Linked DNA regions of Homo sapiens: regions 1, 2, 3, 5, 6 and 7 are each linked to region 4. Evidence: promoter capture Hi-C in 16 types of primary human blood cells and fetal thymus (Javierre and others, 2016). All regions are on one chromosome and are shown on one strand. Each heading gives the region's core, a stretch centred on a gene start or on the middle of the fragment in contact. The rest is flanking DNA. Distances are from core to core; before and after follow the strand shown. Region 1 has its middle 15 kb from the start of LIPC. Region 2 has its middle 110 kb from the start of LIPC. Region 3 has its middle 140 kb from the start of AQP9. Region 4 holds the start of MINDY2-DT (MINDY2 divergent transcript). Region 5 has its middle 120 kb from the start of LIPC. Region 6 has its middle 140 kb from the start of LIPC. Region 7 has its middle 83 kb from the start of LIPC.

Region 1 (2,700 bases), core at 37-2,536, 350 kb after region 4:
ATTTGAATTAGTTATTTATGATGGATCTTAATTCTTTGTAATGTTTGATAGAAATATTTTCCCTCTTAAAAAATCTTCAGTAATGCTAATTTTTATAGTGCAATCATTTCAATTGCTTCAAAGCTGAGAAAGTTAAAATTACCCCAGAGAGCTGATAAACTCTCTTTCCAGTTGTCTGCAAGTTCTATCATAATTTGATTTTATATTTAAATCTTTAATCAACCAAAGCTTATTTTGTTGCACGTTTTATTTTTAATAACTTTTCTATTATAAAATCAATAAATGTTTATTATTGTAAAATAGGAAAATAAAGAAGAACAAAAAGAAAAACATACATAGGTCTGTGATTTCACATTTAGAGATAAGCACTGTTGACATTTTGATGTGGATATCCCCAAGTCATTTTTTCTATGTATACAATTATTTAAAAAAAATAACTGTAAACACACTGTACAAAGTGTTTAAATACCTGTGTATTAACAACACATTAATGGCATATTTCAGGGGCATTAAATATTCTTTTAAAACATTATTTGAAATAGCTACAGAGTACAGTTACACTCTATAGATGTACCATAATTGGCTTAATTCCCTATTGTTTTTTCATTAACTGTATTTAAGATAACACTATTATGAACAATGCTATTATAAACATATGCATAAATCTTGGTCCACATGTATGATTTTCTTTGTATAAATTATTTTTTTAGTAGCTTAAAAAAATTTTAGATTCTGAGGGAACATGTGCAGGTTTGTCACATGGGTATATTGTGTGATGCCGAGGTTTGAGCTTCTAATGGTTCCATTGCCCAAGTAGTGAATATTGTACCCGATAGGTTTTTTTAACCTTTGTCCCCCTCTCCTTCTCACCCCTTTTAGAATGCCACTGTCTATTATTTCCATCTTTATGTCCACTTGTACTCAATGTTTAGCTCCCACTTATAAGTGAGAACGTGCAGTGTTTATCTGCTTTTGTGTTAATTTGCTTAGGATAATGACCTTCAGCTGTAGCCATGTTGCTGCAAAGGATGTGATTTTGTTCTTTTTTATGGCTGCGTAGTATTCCTTAAAAATAATACTACAGATCATATATGTACCACGTTTTCCTTTGTATAAATTTCTTAAAGTAGAATTGCTAAGGCAAAGGTTTTATATCTAGGTATCTATATCTACCTATATATTTTGCCTTTACATATACACTGCTACGTTAAGTAAATTTCTGTCATTTTAAGTACTCATTAGCAGTGAGTGTACTCCTCCTCTGTCCTATCCTCCACCCTTGTTAACATTAGCTATTAACATTTTTGTAATTTTATGCTAAATTGATAAGCCAAAATGGTATGTGCATTTTTAAATTTTTCTTTAAAACCAATGGGTTGAAGTTGAATTTACCACCACTTCCATTTTTATTGCCTTTTTTCTTTCTTTATGAATTATCTGTTCATGATATTTATATATTTTACATACTTTATATGTTTTTATATGTAAAAACTGAGGTGCTCACTTAAGAAATTATAATGATTTCAAACACACGCATGCGTATAATGCATAGTTTTGAATACCACCTACTTCCCAGCTCCATCAAATCCTAATATTTTGCTGTACTTGCTTCCTATTTTTGCTAAAAAATAGAGTGCTGTACCTGTATAACTGTGTATCTCTTCTCAAGCCTGATCTTATTTTTCCTGTCTCAGAGGCAACGCCACCCTGAGTTTGGTGTCTTTCATTCTCATCTCTGTGTGTATATGTTTGCAGCATATGTATGTAGCTACGAAAAATATACAGTAGTTCCTCAGTATCTGTGTGGGATTGGTTCCAGGACCACCCACTGATGCTCAAGTCCCTGATACAAAATGGTGTAGTGTTTGCATATAACCTATGCACATTCTGTCATATGCTGTAAATCACCTCTAGATTACTTATAATACTTAATACAATGCCTATACATCCCTTCATTTGCCTGGTTTTAACATGGTACTCAGGATGTGGCAAATTCAAGTTTTGCCTTTTGGAATTTTGTATAATTTTCCCCCCAAATATTTTGCATCCTCGGTTGATTGAATCTATGGATGTGGAATCCCATGGATATAGAGGGATGATTGTACCATTATTTTGTATGTTTTCAAACTTTTATACTCTACACATCTATCTGCAACTTGTTTTGTCACTCAGCAGTGTATTTTCGAGATTTATCTCTGTTGATAAAACACCTACAAATGGTCCCATTTTAAGAAAGTATCAGAATTTGTTCATTGGGTTGATGGATACTTGTGTTATTTAGTTTTTTCATTTTCCTATTACAATATTGCAGTAGACATTGCATCATCCACAAGTGAAAGCTTCTAGAGTTTATTCCTAGAAGTGAAATTGCTGGATTGTAAGATATATGTCCCATCAGAGTTAGTAAGATGTTGACAATTTATTCTTCAAATAAATTACTTCCGTGAAAGTATCGTTGGCAAAATGTGAGTGTTCCTTCAGTTTTTCCACCTCATCACCAACACTTGAGGAGTGTCAGATTATTTAATTTTCACCAGTTTGATGGATGTAAAATGGTATCTCATTGTTTTAATTTTAAATTTTCTGATTACTGGTGAGGTTGAACATTTTCTTACGTGTGTGATTGTTCATTCAAATTTCTGTTGCTGAGAATAGCTTATTCATATCTTTTGTCCTTATTTCTATTAGTTCATTGCAGAT
Region 2 (2,700 bases), core at 95-2,594, 440 kb after region 4:
ACTAGACCCTTATTTCTCATCGTATACAATAATCAAATAAAAAATGAATTGAAGACTTAAATGTAAGATCTGAAACTGTAAAACTACTTGGATAAAACATAGGAGGAAACCTTATTGACATTGTTTTGGGCAAAGATTTTATGAGTAAGACTTAGAAAGTATAGGAAACAAAAGCAAAAATAAGCCTGGGCAGCATAGTGAGACTCTGTCTCTACAGAAAATAAAAAAATTAGCTGGGCCTAGAGGTATGTGCCAACATTCTCAGCTACTTGGGAGGCTGAGGTGGGAGGATCACTTGAACCCAGGAAGTTGAGGCTGCAGTGTGCTATGATCATACCACTGTGCTCTGGCCTGGGTGACAGAGTGAGACCTTGTCTTGAAAAAAAAGTAAAAATAGACAAAGGGGATTATATTAAACCCAAAGGTTTCTGCAAACCACCACCACCACCAGCAACAATAACAAAATCAATAAAGAAAGAACTTCAGAGCTTGAAGACCAGTCTTTTGAATTAACCCAATCTAAAAAAAAAAAAAAAGAAAAAAAGAATTTAAAAAAGTCTTTGAGAAATATGGGATTATGTAAAGCAACCAAACCTGTAAATTATTGGCATTCCTGAGAGAGAAGGAGAAAAATCAAACAATTTGGAAAATGTATTTGAGGTACTAATTCAAGAAAACTTCCCTAATCTTGCTAGTGAGGTAGACATACAGATATAAGAAATCCAGAAAGCATCCATGAGATACTACACAAAATGAATATCACCAAGGCATATAGTCACAGGAATCTCCAAGGTCAATGCTAAAGACAGAAACCTTGAAAGCAGCTAGAGAAAAAGGTCATATGTCCTAAGGGAATTCCATTAGGCTAACATTGGACTTCTCAGCAGAAACCTTATAAACTAGGAGAGACTGGGGTACTATTTTTAGCATTCTTAAAGAAAAGAAATTTCCACCAGAGATTTCATATCCCACCAAAGTAAGCTTAATAAACGAAGAAATAAAATCTTTACCAGACAAACCAGGATTGAGGGAATTCATTACCACTAGACCAGTATTAGAAGAGATCCTTAAGGAAGTTCTAAACACAGAAACAAAAGAACAATACCTGCTACCACAAAAATACACTTAAGTACATATCCTGCAGACCCTATAAAAGCAAAAACAATAGAAACTACAAAACAAACAGCTAACAACATCATAATAGGACCAAAACCTCACATATTAATGTTAACCTTGAATGTAAATGGTCTAAATTCTTCACTTAAAAGGCACAGAGTAGCAAGTTGGATAAAAAAGCAAGACCCATCCATCTGCTATTTTCAAGAGACCCCTGTCACACGTAATGACACCCATAAGCCAGAAGTAAAGGGTTGAAGAAAGTTCTACCACAGGAATGGAAAACAAAAAAACCAAGGGTCACTATTCCTATATCAGATACAATCAACTTTAAGCCAACAACAGTAAAAAAGGACAAAGAAAGGCATTACATAATAATAAAGGTTCATTTAATTAGAAGACTTAACTATCCTAAATATATATATGCACACAACATTGGAGCGCCTAGATTCATGAAGCAAGCACTTCTAGACCTATGAAAAGACTTAGACAGATACACAATAATAATGGGGGACTTCAACACCCTATTGACAGCATTAGACAGACCACTGAGGCAGAAAACTGACAAAAAAACTCTGGACCTAAGCTTGACATCAGACCAATTGGACCTAATAGACATCTACAGAATACTCCACTTATTCAACACATAATATACATTCTTTTAATCTGTCCAAGGACTATACTCCATGATTGACCACATACTCAGCCATAAAGCAAGTCTCAATACATTTAAAAAGCCAAAATCTTACCAGTCATACTCTTGGACCAGAGTGGAATAAAAATAGAAATAAACATCAAGAAGATCTCCCAAAATCACAAGACTACATGGAAATTAAACAACTTGCTCCTGAATGACTTTTGGTGTAAACAATGAAATCAAGGCAGAAATAAAAAATTATCTGAAATAAATGAAAACAGGACACAAGACACCAAAATAACTGGAATGCAGCAAAAGTAATGTTAAGAGGAAAGTTTATAGTGCCAACTGCCTACCTCAAAAAGTTAGATCTCAAATTAACAATCTAACATCGCACCTAGAGCAACTAGAAAAACAAGAACAAACCAACCCCAAAGCTAGTAGAAGAAAAGAAATAACTAAAATCAGAATAGAACCGAATGAAATTGAGACTCCAAAATCCAAACAAAGTGTCAATGAAACCAAAAGTTAGTTTTTTGAAAGGATAAACAGGATTAATAGAACGCTAGCTAGATTAACAAAGAAGAGATATCCAAATAAGCACAATCAGACAGAACAAAAGTGACATTATAACTAATCCCACAGAAATACAAAAGATTCTCAGAGACTAATATGAACACCTGTATGCCACAAATCTAGAAGAAATGGATAAATTCATGGAAATACACAATGTTCCAAGATTGAATCAGAAATAAATTGAAACCCTGAACAGATCAATATCAAGTTCCAAAACTGAATGAGTAATAAAAAACCTACAAGCTAAAATAAGCCTGGATCAGAGAGAGTCATAGCCAAATTCCACCAGAGCTACAAAAAAGAGCTGGTAGCAATTCTACTGAAACCATTTCAAAAAAATTGAGGGGAAGGAATTCTCTCTAACTCATTCT
Region 3 (2,700 bases), core at 151-2,650, 500 kb after region 4:
TGATGTGATACAGCAAAATCAAATATTACTCCACTTTGATTTCATTTTCACAGTTGGAACAGGAATCAGATTCTGCACAATAAACTTATCAGAAACAGAAAGAACAACAACTGCTCAAGCCACGAATTCCCCTCATCCAGCCTAACCAGAGCAGAGGGGCTGCACTCATTTGATTCAATAATTTCTACTTTCCTATGGTTTCTGTTACCTCTTTAAATTTTAAAATACTTTTACTTCTGAGACATTTCGACATAAGTGAAATAATACAATAAAATCAATGCATGGCCGGGCGCGGTGGCTCATGCCTGTAATCCCAGCACTTTGAGAGGCCGAGGCGGCGGATCACCTGAGGTCAGGAGTTCGAGACCAGCCTGACCAACATGGTGAAACCCCGTCTTTACTAAAAACACAAAAGTAGCTGGGCATGGTGGCACATGCCTGTAATTCCAGCTACTTGGGAGGCTGAGGTAGGAGAATCGCTTGAATCCGGGAGGCGGAGGTTGCAGTGAGCTGCGATCGTGCCACTGCACGCCAGCCTGGGCAACAAGAGCAAAACTCCATTAAAAAAAAAAAAAAAGAGATATATACACATATATAGATATATATGTATATATATAGAGAGATATGTATATCTCTCTCTATATGTATAGATATGTATATCTCTCTCTATATGTATAGAGAGATATGTATATCTATATACATATATAGATAGAGAGATATATACGTATATATATCTCTCTCTACACACACACACACACACACACACACATACACACACACACACACACACCCACACACACACACTACATGGAACTGAATTCAGGACCTGTAATAGAACAATGAAAAATAGTGGTTTAAAAAAGTTAATTTTTTTGGCCATAACAAGAAGTTTGGAGGTAGGCAGTGCACAGCCAATGCGGTATCTCAGAGCTATCTCTGGGACCAGGCTGCTGCTTCTCACCGCATGTCCAGTGCTAGCATCACCCTAGGCAGCTTCCATCCCCATGATCTAAATAAGGCTGTGCTACTGTCGGACAGGAAGGGGGCCTTCTCCATACAATAAAAACATTGTAGTTGTTGTTTTAGCACATCAGGAAGCACATCCAAGGGACTTTGCCTACATCTCTTTGGCCAGAACTATGTGATATGGCCCCTCCAGACTCCAAGGAACTTTGGAAAAGTGACTTCACCAATCTCATCAAAATTGGGGTTTTGTTAACAAAAAAAGAGAGAGTGGATATTGGGCAAACAAATCACGAATGTCTGCTGTCGCCTACTACTAGAGTTTAATAGATGTTAACTTTTTGCAAATTTGCTTCAGAACCTTTTCTTGTTTTTTTTCAAATAGGGTCTCACTATGTTGCCCAGGCTAGTCTCAAACTCCCGGGCTCAAGTGATACTCCCTCCTTAGCCTTCTGAGTAGCTGGGATTAAATTATAGGCATGTACTACAATGCCCAGCACAGACACTTGTTTTCTTTTAAAGACAAGAAACATTACAAAGAAAGCTAAAGATGTGTCTTCATCTCTTTTTCCTCTCTTCCACCTCAGAGGTAACCATTAACCGGAAGCTGGTGTGCGTGACTCCCAGATATATTTTTATACTTTGAGTACATATAAAAATTTGATTTCTGATAATGTCAGGCTAGGTAAATGAAGCCCACCCTCATGATAAATATGCCTAAATCCTACCTAAACTACACATGCATAAATATACTTTTTTCTAAACTATATTTAAAATCTTATCAAAGTGTTATAGAACCTACAAGGTCATAAAGAGCTAGCAGGCCAGAATTTAAGGAACGGTAGAAACTAGAGAGGCTAGCTGAACACCAGCTGCACTTGGCACTGAGGCAACCCGGACTGCAGTGTCCTGGGGTTGGGTTGGGGCAGATTTACTTATGGTTTACCTTACCCTGGGGGCGTGGTCTTTCAGTACCAGCTTCATGTGTAAGAGGGCCTCCTATTAGATTCCTAGTCTCTGGTTGGGCCCTGGGCCATTCTTTCTTTTTTTCCCTTATGAAAACTGAAGTCAAGTTTGCCTATATCAACAAAAGCCGTCAGGGCAAAAGCAGTTTCAATGCTCTGATGTCCTACTTGCATAGATGGGCTATCCATAAAGGCAAGGACAGTTAACACTAGAGAAGCTATTAACATTCAGAATTTCTCAGACTGTTTCTCCTTAACCTTATGATTTTCTTCCTTATACATTTAAATTTTTTTTTCTCTAGTATCTTACCTCATTTTTTTTGAAATCAATATAGTTATTTAAAGTCATGGATTTGTTTTCTATAAGTACTACTTTATTTACATTCCCACAGTTTTAATATATGGTGTTTTATTATGATTTATTTACAAAACATTTCTAGTTTGTTGACCCCAAAATTTTGTATAAATATATGTATTTTTGTAAACATATTTATTGAAATATATGATACATTCAGAATAGTACATAATCATAAAAGAGTAGCTGCATAGGCCGAGGTGGCTGGATCACAAGGTCAAGAGATAGAGACCATCCTGGCCAACATGGTGAAACCCTGTCTGTACTAAAAATACAAAAATTAGCTGGGCGTGGTGGCGTGTGCCTGTAGTCCCAGCTACTCAGGAGGCTGAGGCAGGAGAATCGCTTGAACCCAGGAGGCAGAGGTTGCCGTGAGCCGAGATGAGATCGTACCACTGCACTCCAGTCTGGCAATAG
Region 4 (2,700 bases), core at 48-2,547:
AAAAGCTGTAGGAAGTAGAAAGCTGCAGAATGTACCTTCCAGGCCAGGAGCAAAACATTGAGGATGGCCAGCAAGGGGCAGGGTCCGTTCTCATTCTGGGTGATGATGGGTGTGTTCTCTTCCTTCCACTGGATCCACTTGATGTGATACACAGATTGTCCCGGGAAGCGTTCCTTGGAGGCCGCCAGCACCTGAGCGGTCTCCTCCCCCTCCTCCTCCTTGCACAGAGGAACAGCCCCGGGCAACACCGCCGCGCCCTCCTCCTCCTCAGGGACCCTGTTCTCCGCTCCCTCCTCACTATTGAACTCGCAGCTACTGGGAAAAGAATGCAGGTTAGAGAACGACTCCAGAGAGTCCAGGCTCGGAGATTCCCCAGGAGGGCTCGGGTCGCTGCAACTGCTGCTGAGGCCGCCGGCGCTGCTGGGCTCTTCGGAGCCGGCGGCGGTCAGTTCTGCTTGGCAGGTGCCGGCGAGATCCGGGCGGGCTCCCGCGTCTCCGGCGGTACCCAACTCATGACCCACTCCGGCCACGGCTGTCTCCGGGGAGGCGGTCACCTTGTACTGCCCTCTCAGAGGCGCCTCGGCGGCAGCAGGACTCTCCAAACCACTGTCCTTCAAGTCCAAACCCGCGGAGGAGCTGCAGGGTCCGGGAACCTCAGGAGAGCCCGCGGGAGAAGCCGAGTCCGGGAGGCTCCTCCTGGCGGCCGCCGCCCCCAGCCCATTCCCGCCGCTGGTCTCCGCCGCCCATACCCCAGGACCATCACCAGCGGCGAGCCTGGTCTCCTGTAGCCCTTCCTGCGAAGAACCTGTCCCTGACGCTGGCCCGGCCGCCACCCCGTGTTCTAGCGGCTGCAGGCTCTCGGGGCTGCTCTCCATACCGGGCCGCCCGCCCCCAGCTCTATGGAGACCGCGGCCACTTCTCCGCAGCCAGCGCCTTGGACGCCATGACAGCTGTATTGGCAGCAACAGCGCCCTGGCGCGGCCTCGGTCAGGCACGTCACCGGGGAGAGTACTAAGAACGCGCGCGGGCGCGCGCTACCGCTCTGTCCGTGCGCTCTGAGCTTGCCTCCGCCTGACTGCGCGCTGAGAGGCGAAGGCGAACCACTCAGCAGCCGCCCACGTGGCCCAGCCCTTTCCGTGCGTCCGACCGAGCTCGCTCTCGGAAGGCCGGGCGTGGAGGGCGTGGCTAGGAGGGCGCGGCCGGGGGGCGCGCCCCCGCGGCTCAGCTCCAGTAGGAAAACATCCTCTCACTATGTGGCCGGAAGTTGAACTCCCGGGCAGCTCCCTTGTGTGCGGCTTCTTTAAAGGGAAGGCAGGAGGCGGACAGCTTGGCTGTGACCCTTTAGCGCTGGGTCGCGTGTGGCCCACCCTCGGCCTGAGGCATTGTTGGGTGGTTGGAGGTGGTTGTAGTATTTGGAAAAGAACTTGTCCCTGAAGGGCTCAGGGGACTTGGTTTCTCAGCTCCTAATATGGAAAATTAAGGCATTTCTTACGAGATGCAGATTTTAAAGCAGGCATATCTACTCGACGGCTTTGGATTACTGCACTGCACAAATTCCAGTCTCTGTCGGTTTTGGCTGAGAAGAGCTGTGCTTCTCACCAGCTACTGGTGAGACATTCGCCCTACAGGAAAGGGTCGGTATGATTGTGGACATTGACATGCGTAGCAAAAGAAAGTGGCTAATTTGCGCCAATAATAATAAATTAGCTTGTATTTGAATTAGCCAAGTCTTTGCGGTTTTGCTAACTTGGCTTCACTTTGCATGGAGTGGGAAGCGCCTGCTTCTGAAAAGGTGACTTTTTTCCTAATTAGAATGGACTCCTCTTAAGGCCATGCAGTTTTCAAAGAAGAAAGACAAGCTGGACGTTTTGTTAGTAACAAAATGTATGTGGGTCCTATTCTAACTTGTTACAGAAAAGGGCTTTTTCCCCCATCTTTTTTCTTTCAACATTTTCTAGGCTGTTGGGGATAAAAAATTAACGAGACAGGTCTTCCTTCGCAGACATATAAATACCTGATACATAATTAGAATGTGATATTTTTGCACCTCTGTTGGTTAGAGAAGGCAGACAAGATTGCAAAGTAGTATTTCATTCATTCCTTTAATACATTTTAGTACCAAGTAAGTTGCTGGATGCTGTCTGTCACTGGAGATGCCATAGTGGATCACGGAGCTTATATCTTCATGGAGCTTACTGTCTTTTTTTTTCTTATTGCTATTTTTTAATACATACTTATATGTTTTTTTGTTTTTGTTTTTGCTTTTGTTTTTTTTTTTTTTTGAAACGGAGTCTCTCTCTGTCGCCCAGGCTGGAGTGCAGTGGCACGATCTTGGCTCACTGCAACCTCCGCCTCCCGGGTTCAAGCGATTCTCCTGCCTCAGCCTCCCGAGTAGCTGGGACTATAGGCGCCCGCCACCATGCCTGGCTAATTTGTTGTTGTTGTTGTTTTTGAGACGGAGTCTTGCTCTGTCGCCCAGGCTGGCGTGCAGTGGCGCGATCTCGGCTCACTGCAAGCTCCGCCTCCCGGGTTCACGCCATTCTCCTGCCTCAGCCTCCTGAGTAGCTGGGACTACAGGCGCCCGCCACCACGCCCAGCTAACTTTTTGTATTTTTAGTAGAGACGGGGTTTCACCGTGTTAGCCAGGATGGTCTTGATCTCCTGACCTCGTGATCTGCCCACCTCGGCCCCCAAAGTGCT
Region 5 (2,700 bases), core at 82-2,581, 460 kb after region 4:
TCTATATCCAGGCATAGAATTTACTGTGGTCCTTGCACACCTAGTGCCAGCTTTCGATGGAGAGACCAAGAGGCCAAGACTACTTTCCGCACTCAGCACTGCCCCCTATGCTTTGTTCATGATAAAAAAAAAATCCATGTACAGAGGCTCCTTGACTTATAATGGGGTTTCATCCTGATAAACCCATTGTAAGTTGAAAATATCCTCAGAAACATACATTTAATATATGGAACTTACTGAACATCAAGCTTAGCCTAGCCTACCTTAAATGGGCTCAGAACACTGACATCAGACTACAGGTGGGCAAAATCATCTAACACAAAGCCTATTTTATAATAAAGCGTTGAAAATCTCAAGTAATGTATTGAATAGTATACCAAAAGTCACAAACAGGATGGTCGTATGGGTACTTGAAGTATAGTTTCTACTGAATGCCTCTTGCCATAGTAAAGCTGAAAAATTGTAAGCAGCACCATCACAAGTTGGGGACCATCCATACCTGCGTATAGAGCATAAGCTGCTTTGAGAGCCTTTTCCTTTGCCTTTGTATCTGATTCCTCTCTTCCAGTTCCTGGGTTGTATAGATGCTCAGTAAGAACATAGTTAGACAAACGCACCAATAAACTTATGGGAGAAGTTCCTACCTGCCATGATGATTAGGTGGGGAGGGGAGGGGTCAGAATTGATGAATTCATTTCTTTTCTCCTCTACCAAAGTCTGCTCCTGAGTTTGCTTTTGGAATGCCTTTTCCTCTCTCCTGCCCTGCCCTCCCTTCCATTTGGCTCCCAGACAGCAGGCCTTGAAAGGGGGCTGTTCTTTAGGGAAAACTTTTCATTAATTCCACATATATTCCCAGAATTGTCAGGTTTTTTCCAAAGTCTCTATTTAGAAATATCATAGGTTTACTCTTTTTTAAAACAATAAATTATCACTCCAAACCAGCCCATAAAAAGAAACAGGGGGAGGGAAGGTGAAAAAATGAAACCCAACCACGTCTTCAATGGGAAAGACGTTCCCATTGAAAATCTTACTGGGACACCCAGTTTTTCTTACTGGAATGGTGAGGCTGACATGATCGAAAACTGTGCCATTTGGAAGAGTTCACTAGTGCATTTGGGAATTTTCCAAGGGAAATTTCAGGGAATCAGAGACTTCTGAGAAATGCGTGATTCATAGTGAAGGGATCCACTGTTTCCTCACTGAAGGCTGATTCTTTAATGTCGTGACATAATCTCCAAATCATACCTTAGTCTGATACCTTTCAAGATCTAGCAAATATCAACAGGCCACTGTCTTGGGTGCTCAGTGATGCATAAAGAGAGGCTCTGACCCTTTAAGGAACATGCATGCCTATTCAAGACTGCTCTCAGCGTGTGTCTCTATTGTACTCTCTCTCTTTCTCTCTCTCTCTCTCTCTTTTTTTTTTTTTAACAGAATCTGAACACAGAGTTGAAATAAACCACAGGGATTATCTGGACCCATCCATCTGTGATGTTATTTCAGATGCTGCCTCTCCTTGAGGTCTTTCCTAACTCAGCAGCCAAACTAATTACTGCTTGCTCTGAGCTCCCATGCACCTTGCATAGAGTCTGTTACAGCTTTTCCCAGAGTGCGTTATAATTATTTGTTTGCATGTCTGTCTCCTGGGCTCCTGGGAACCAACATCATGTCTTACTTAGGCTTACATTCCACGCTAGCTCCTAGCAGAGTTTTTGGCAAATAGTAGTTGCTCAATTGATGTCTGTTAAATGAGTTAAAAAGGACTCACTTTCTGCAGACAGTAAAGCTGGGGTCTCAGAGGATTAAGGTGCTTTGGGTAAGATAAAGATTGTATCACTGCTTACATTCATCTGCTGTTAATTATGAAAGAGAATGAACTAATAGGGCAGCATATTGTCTCCGTTTCCTGTATTTACTATTTCTGACCAGATTTACAGGGGACACATGCTTCTAGCTGGTCCCTGCATGTTGCTTGATTGTTCTATTTAATGTGGTTTACTCTGGCTAATGATGGAAAGCTGCAGTCCCTCCTGTTTGCCCCAGAGAGGACAGAAATGCTTTGCTCAAACCTCAGACTTATTGGGCCTGTTCTTTGTATTACAGGAAGAAGGAGCTGGTTGGGAAGTGTGAGATCATTTCCTGGGTCTTTCTTTTCCCTTTATTTTCTTAGTGTGTCTTGCTTTTTTCTTTTTGTTTGTTTTGTTTTGGACAACTCATGGAGCATGGAGTTCACCTGACTATGGACTTGGTATATTTGAGAACAAAACACGTTTTGACCTCACAGTCCCAAGAGGTCTCTTGCAAAAACTGAGCAAAGGTCCCAATTTGCTGTTGGCTTTACCAGTTAGTATCAGCATGGTGGACAGGTCGGGTAGGGATTTTCAGCTTCGTGTGACCTATGCTCAGGAAGCTTTTTGCCCAAAATCTTCTTTCAGACTCTGTCCACGTGCACTGAAGTACTGTGAAAAGGGAATGAGTATTAAAACTGGTAGAGATGATTTCCAAGGTATTTAATAACCTTTTTAGCACGTAGGGCCAGTCAGAGTCTTCCAACTCTTTAGTTGCTGGGTTGAGGGGTTTTGAGGAGAGGCTGGGGAGCCAGAGAAAGGAAGTGAAGTTGTTGGAGAGAACGGGGGCTTGAGGCAACAGCTGTATACCAACTAATATGAAGCTTGTTCAAAATCTACAGAAGTGGTGTGG
Region 6 (2,700 bases), core at 142-2,641, 480 kb after region 4:
TTTGGCGCCAAACAGACCTGCCTCAGTTTCAGTCCTGCTTCTGCCACTGCAGGTCTCTCTTCCTCTCCTTCTTCACTGAGTAAGGCTGACAACCTAACTGACAGGGCTCCTCAAAGGATTAACTGAGATAAAGCATGTGGAACAAGTCTGGCATGAAGTAGATGCCTAAGATTTCACCGTTGACGCTCATAGTCACAGCAGCTTCTAGACTTGCTTTGTATATTCTCTGACCTCAGAAGGCATGCTGTGGAATGCAGACTAGGGAAAATGCATCTAAATGTATTACAATGTGAGATGGTCAGTTTTATGTGTCAGCTTGGCTGGGCTACAGTCCCCTGCTATTCAGTTAAACACTAATCTAGATGTTTCTGTGAAGGTATTTGGTAGATGTGATTAAAGTCCCTAATCAGTTGACTTTAAATAAGAAAGGTTATATTAGATAATTTGAGGGAGGGGTCATAATCAGATGAAAAGCCTTAAGAGCAGAACTGAGTCTTTTCTAAAGGAGAAATTCTACCTGGGGATAGCAGCTTCAGCTCCTGCCTAAGACTTTCCAGCCTACACTTCCTGACTTTGGTGACTTTGGGTCCTGTGGACTTCAGGTTTGTCTATTATAAGGAGTTGAACTGCATACCCCCAAAAGATGTTGAAGCCCTCACTCCCAGTACCTGTGAATGTGATTTTATTTGGAAATAGGAGTTTCCCAGATGATCAAGATGAGGTGATGAGGGTGGGCCCTGATCCAATAAGGCTATAACCTTTTTTATAAAAAGGGGAAAATTTGGACACAAACCTGCATAGAAGGAAAGTGATATGAAGACACAGGAATAAGATGGCCACCTGTAAGCCAAGAAACTGTGTGTGTGTGTCTGCATGTGTGTGTATATCTCCATATCCTACTGGTTCTGTGGCTGTGTTTCTCTGGCAGAATCCTGACTGGTGCACAGTGTATGATATAACAGCACTGAAGGGGGTTTGGGGGAAAAGAGGAGCTGACCTAAGTGACTGGAAAAAGTGATTTTAGCAAGAAACTGTGAGGCTAGAGGCTAAAGGCTAAAGGAAGTAGACAGAAACATTGTACTTTTCTTGGTAAGTTTCTTACAGTTTAATGATTCTGAAACTCTTTATCTGTAGGTAGGGTTGAAAAATAAGTAAATGGATGGTAGATGATGGGAACCAGTTTTCTCACTATCATAGAGGGAAGTTACATATAAGCAGCCCAGAAAGGCTAAAATGAACCCTGTGCTCCTGGATTAAAGACTGTTAATATGCACTCATGTTTAGCTTAATATATATAGACATCGAAACAGTTATAGAGATGTGTGTATACATGGGTTCGCATACATACGTATATTTCCTTGCTCTGTTCATGGAGAGGGCCCAAAAGCAATGAAACTGCAGTAGCATTGAGCAGACGTGGCATCCAGATCTTGGTTTCCAGTGCTGTCCTCCAACAAAAGGAACCAGGGCTACACGGAGAAATGGCTCAATCTAAGACTGTAAACAGGAGATATACAAAATGAGCCTGGAGTGTCTTGTGGTACCAGAAAATGAGAAAATATTAAAAGGAAACAAGAAAATCCCAACCACATTGATGGCAGTGTATCAAAGGGACACAGGAGCCAACCTGAAAGCACCCAATGGCCAAAGTTGGATAATTTGAGCAACAATAAATAACATAGTATTGGACTGTAACACCATGTAAAAATAAATATATATGGGTCGTTATTGCTATAAATAACTGATTTAATAAAATGGTGGAGTAGAGACACATTTTCTTTACAGAACAATTCTGGTAATATATGTAGATACCCCTCACTCCAGAAAGTGAAGTGAATTCCCTCCCCCCTTTTCCAGAATGGATAGACTTAGAAATTTGTTTCCAAAGATTATAGATGTGAAAAATAGTAACATAGTGGAGAGACCCGGCAAACATCACCTTAATCAAGTGATGAAGGATACCATCACCGGTCACATCATGTTGATCTCATGGACCTGTGATATGAGGTGGTGAGAAGGGCACTTCAAGTCCGTGATCTTCCTTCCAAAATCTCATAACCCCAGTCCAATCATGAGCAAAACATCACACAAACTCATATTGAGGAACATTCCTACAAAATATCTGACTAGTCATTCTCACAAATGTTAAGGTCTTGAAAAACAAGGCAAACCTGAGAAACTGTCACAGACCAGAAGAAAATGAGGCAAGAACACAATTAAGTTTACTGTGATACCCTGGGACTCAGGAACAGGAAGAGGGCGTTAGTAGAAAAGCTGGTGAAACTCAAAGTCAGGCGTTTTGGTTAATGTTGGTTTCTTCATTTTGCCAAATGTACCACGGTTATGTAAGATATTAACAAATGGGGGAGCTGTGTGATGGGCATATGGGAACTCTCTGTATCATCTTTGCAGCTTTTCTATAAATAAAAAATTATTCCAAAACAAAATGTTTATTTAAAAGAAAAAGGCATTCTGGATCCAACACTTACCAGCTGTGTAACCTCAGATGAGTTATTTAATCTTTCAGTGCCTCAATCTTGTGTTTTGTAAAATGAGGGGTTAATAGTAAAACTTCCCATAGGGTTGTTGTAAGGATTAAATGAGTTAACATATGAATTGCTTAGAATAGTGCTTGGCAAAAGGTAAGTTGTTAATAAGTGTTGGCTCTGATTGTAATAGTTTCTTCTTTTAAACACAACT
Region 7 (2,700 bases), core at 45-2,544, 420 kb after region 4:
AAGAAAATAAAACTATAGACATTTAAGGAACGATAAATATCAACATTTGTTTCAGTTGCCACAAGCGTGAGTTACTTTACTGATTAAAAATTGATAAGAAAAAATTAAGGCTGGGCACAGTGGCTCAACGCCTGTAATCTCGGCACTTTGGGAGGCCCGAGGCGGGTGGATCACCTGAGGTTTGGAGTTCGAGACCAGCCTGACCAACATGGCGAAACCTCACCTCTACTGAAAAAAAAAAATAGCCAGGCATGGTGGTGGGTGCCTGTAATCCCAACTACTTGGGAGGCTGAGGCAGGAGAATCGCTTGAACATGGGAGGCGGAGGTTGCAGTGGGCTATCGCGCCATTGCACTCCAGCCTGGGCAACAGAGCAAGACTCCATCTCAAAAAAAAAAAAAAAAAAAGAAAAAGAAAAATTTAAGTCTGGGCGCAGTGGCTCACTGCTGTAATCCCAGGACTTTGGGAGTCCAGGGTGGGTAGATCATGAGGTCAGGAGATCGAGACCAGCCTGGCCAACATGGTGAAACCCCCTCTCTACTAAAAATACAAAAATTAGCTGGGCGTGGTGGTGCATGCCTGTAATCCCACCTACTGGGGAGGCTTAGGCAGGAGAATCACTTGAACCTGGGAGGTGGAGGTTGCAGTGAGTCAAGATTGTGCCATTGCACTCCCGCCTGGGCGACAGAGTGAGACTCCATCTCAAAAAAAATAAATAAATAAATAAAAGAAAAAGAAAAGAAAAGAAAAATTTTAAAGGAAAAAATGAAAACACCTTGTTCCCTCCATCAAAACAAAGGGATTCATCAACCCAAATTGGGCCCTGGAGTTTCCGGGAAATATGCAGCATTTAGTCATGAGTGAGTGTCCACAGCTGGACACCTGAGCCTGGGGCAGCCAGGGGCTGGAGCCGCTCTTCTGTGGCTTTGGCTTCTCCTCACCTTTGATGAGAAAGTTCTCTTCCCTCCCCATATGTCAGTTCATCAACATTAGAAAGATATTCTAGACTATAGTTATAATATTTACACAGAATCAAATAGAAAAAAATTTGAAAAAAAAATGTCTGGCTTGTATTCCCCTTCAATGATCTCAATTACTTCCTGTTTAGCACCTGCTACTTTATCCTGTATCATATAGCAAATTTCTTCTTGTTTGCAAATGACTCAGCCAATCTCTTCTTGCCTCATCCTGGTGTCCCCCATCTCACTTGTGTTTAGAGTCTCAAAAAGACATAAGGCCTTGGCTTGATTGAAAGAACATATGACACAGAGCTTGATTGCCATGGATTCAATAGGGAATGAATCCCTGTCCCTGCTGAATATTCTCTCCAGCACTATGGAGGTCCCCTGTAGAGGCTGCACCTGTCATTGCTTCAAGAATTCTGGCCTTCTCTTGGCCATGTTCACCACTTTTGAGCACAAGGTTTTGGTGCTTTTTCTCAGGAATACTTTGCATTATCCCTGTTTTCTGCTATCAACCAAGGCCAGAGACAGGGAGCTTCTCAGCGTAGCACAAAGCAGTGGTTGTGGCAGGGAGGGAGGGTCAGGTGCAAAGTGTTTACTGACTCTTCTCTGGTTTCATCTTTCCACTGTAGAAATAGCTTAGGGAGTGGGGGAAGGTGGCAACACAGTAGGTATTGAGTAGGTAGCAGCAGACAATGTGAAATACCAAACAGTGAGAACTTGAGGCACAAAACTGAATCTGGAGAGTGTGGAAGGCCTGGATTGAACCTTGCAATGCAGATGTAGGAATCTTTTTTTTTTTTTTTTTAATACTTTAAGTTTTAGGGTACATGTGCATAACGTGCAGGTTTGTTACATATGCATACATGTGCCATGTTGGTATGCTGCACCCATTAACTTGTCATTTACATTAGGTATATCTCCTAATGCTATCCCTCCCCCCACCCCACCCCACAACAGGCCCCAGTGTGTGATGTTCCTCTTCCTGTGTCCAAGTGTTCTCATTGTTCATTTCCCACCTGTGAGTGAGAACATGTGGTGTTTGGTTTTTTGTCCTTGAGATAGTTTGCTGAGAATGATGGTTTCCAGCTTCATCCATGTCCCTACAAAGGACATAAACTCATCATTTTTTATGGCTGCATAGTATTCCATGGTGTATATGTGTCACATTTTTTTAATCCAGTCTATCATTGTTGGACATTTGGGTTGGTTCCAAGTCTTTCCTATTGTGAATAGTGCCACAATAAACATACATGTGCATGTGTCTTTATAGCAGCATGATTTATAATCCTTTGGGTATATACCCAGTAATGGGATGGCTGGGTCAAATGGTATTTCTAGTTCTAGATCCCTGAGGAATCACCACACTGACTTCCACAATGGTTGAACTAGTTTACAGTCCCACCAACAGTGTAAAAGTGTTCCTATTTCTCCACATCCTCTCCAGCACCTGTTGTTTCCTGACTTTTTAATGATTGCCATTCTAACTGGTGTGAGATGGTATCTCATTGTGGTTTTGATTTGCATTTCTCTGATGGCCAGTGATGATGAGCATTTTTTAATGTGTCTGTTGGCTGCATAAATGTCTTCTTTTGAGAAGTGTCTGTTCATATCCTTCGCCCACTTGTTGATGGGGTTGTTTGTTGTTTCTACCTGACTTTAAACTATACTACAAGGCTACAGTAACCAAAACAGCATAGTACTGGTACCAAAACAGAGATATAGACCAATGGAACAGA

Evidence for each region. Contacts are between HindIII fragments. The CHiCAGO score rates a contact against its expected background, and 5 or more counts as called.
Region 1: a contact is called between a fragment that was not itself captured here and the fragment with the promoter of MINDY2-DT in region 4, in 2 of 17 cell types (erythroblasts and total CD4 T cells). The highest score is 5.7, in erythroblasts.
Region 2: a fragment that was not itself captured here is called in contact with the fragment with the promoter of MINDY2-DT in region 4 in 8 of 17 cell types (M1 macrophages, M2 macrophages, naive CD4 T cells and 5 more); the score reaches 8.2 in M1 macrophages.
Region 3: a contact is called between a fragment that was not itself captured here and the fragment with the promoter of MINDY2-DT in region 4, in 10 of 17 cell types (total CD4 T cells, naive CD4 T cells, M2 macrophages and 7 more). The highest score is 10.4, in total CD4 T cells.
Region 5: a fragment that was not itself captured here is called in contact with the fragment with the promoter of MINDY2-DT in region 4 in 6 of 17 cell types (endothelial precursors, total CD4 T cells, fetal thymus and 3 more); the score reaches 8.0 in endothelial precursors.
Region 6: a contact is called between a fragment that was not itself captured here and the fragment with the promoter of MINDY2-DT in region 4, in 5 of 17 cell types (total CD4 T cells, fetal thymus, M2 macrophages and 2 more). The highest score is 9.3, in total CD4 T cells.
Region 7: a contact is called between a fragment that was not itself captured here and the fragment with the promoter of MINDY2-DT in region 4, in 1 of 17 cell types (fetal thymus). The highest score is 5.0, in fetal thymus.

What each region holds. Positions count from the first base shown.
Region 1 is chr15:58,415,489-58,418,188 of GRCh38, reverse strand. No RefSeq gene overlaps it. Among named protein-coding and RNA genes, the nearest start is that of LIPC, 15 kb to the left of the region's middle. The HindIII fragment of the contact is 2,111 bases long and covers 231-2,341 here.
Region 2 is chr15:58,325,291-58,327,990 of GRCh38, reverse strand. No RefSeq gene overlaps it. Among named protein-coding and RNA genes, the nearest start is that of LIPC, 110 kb to the left of the region's middle. The HindIII fragment of the contact is 721 bases long and covers 984-1,704 here.
Region 3 is chr15:58,274,282-58,276,981 of GRCh38, reverse strand. No RefSeq gene overlaps it. Among named protein-coding and RNA genes, the nearest start is that of AQP9, 140 kb to the right of the region's middle. The HindIII fragment of the contact is 5,115 bases long and covers 1-2,700 here.
Region 4 is chr15:58,769,571-58,772,270 of GRCh38, reverse strand. MINDY2-DT (MINDY2 divergent transcript) reads left to right here and starts at 1,297. Exons shown (of 2, transcript NR_135474.1): 1 at 1,297-1,884. MINDY2 (MINDY lysine 48 deubiquitinase 2) reads right to left here and starts at 969. Exons shown (of 9, transcript NM_001040450.3): 1 at 36-969. The coding sequence starts at 875. RefSeq lists a silencer at 1,015-1,294 and an enhancer at 1,107-2,032. The HindIII fragment of the contact is 12,290 bases long and covers 1-2,700 here.
Region 5 is chr15:58,306,332-58,309,031 of GRCh38, reverse strand. No RefSeq gene overlaps it. Among named protein-coding and RNA genes, the nearest start is that of LIPC, 120 kb to the left of the region's middle. The HindIII fragment of the contact is 2,162 bases long and covers 251-2,412 here.
Region 6 is chr15:58,290,314-58,293,013 of GRCh38, reverse strand. No RefSeq gene overlaps it. Among named protein-coding and RNA genes, the nearest start is that of LIPC, 140 kb to the left of the region's middle. The HindIII fragment of the contact is 4,949 bases long and covers 1-2,700 here.
Region 7 is chr15:58,347,152-58,349,851 of GRCh38, reverse strand. No RefSeq gene overlaps it. Among named protein-coding and RNA genes, the nearest start is that of LIPC, 83 kb to the left of the region's middle. The HindIII fragment of the contact is 6,422 bases long and covers 1-2,700 here.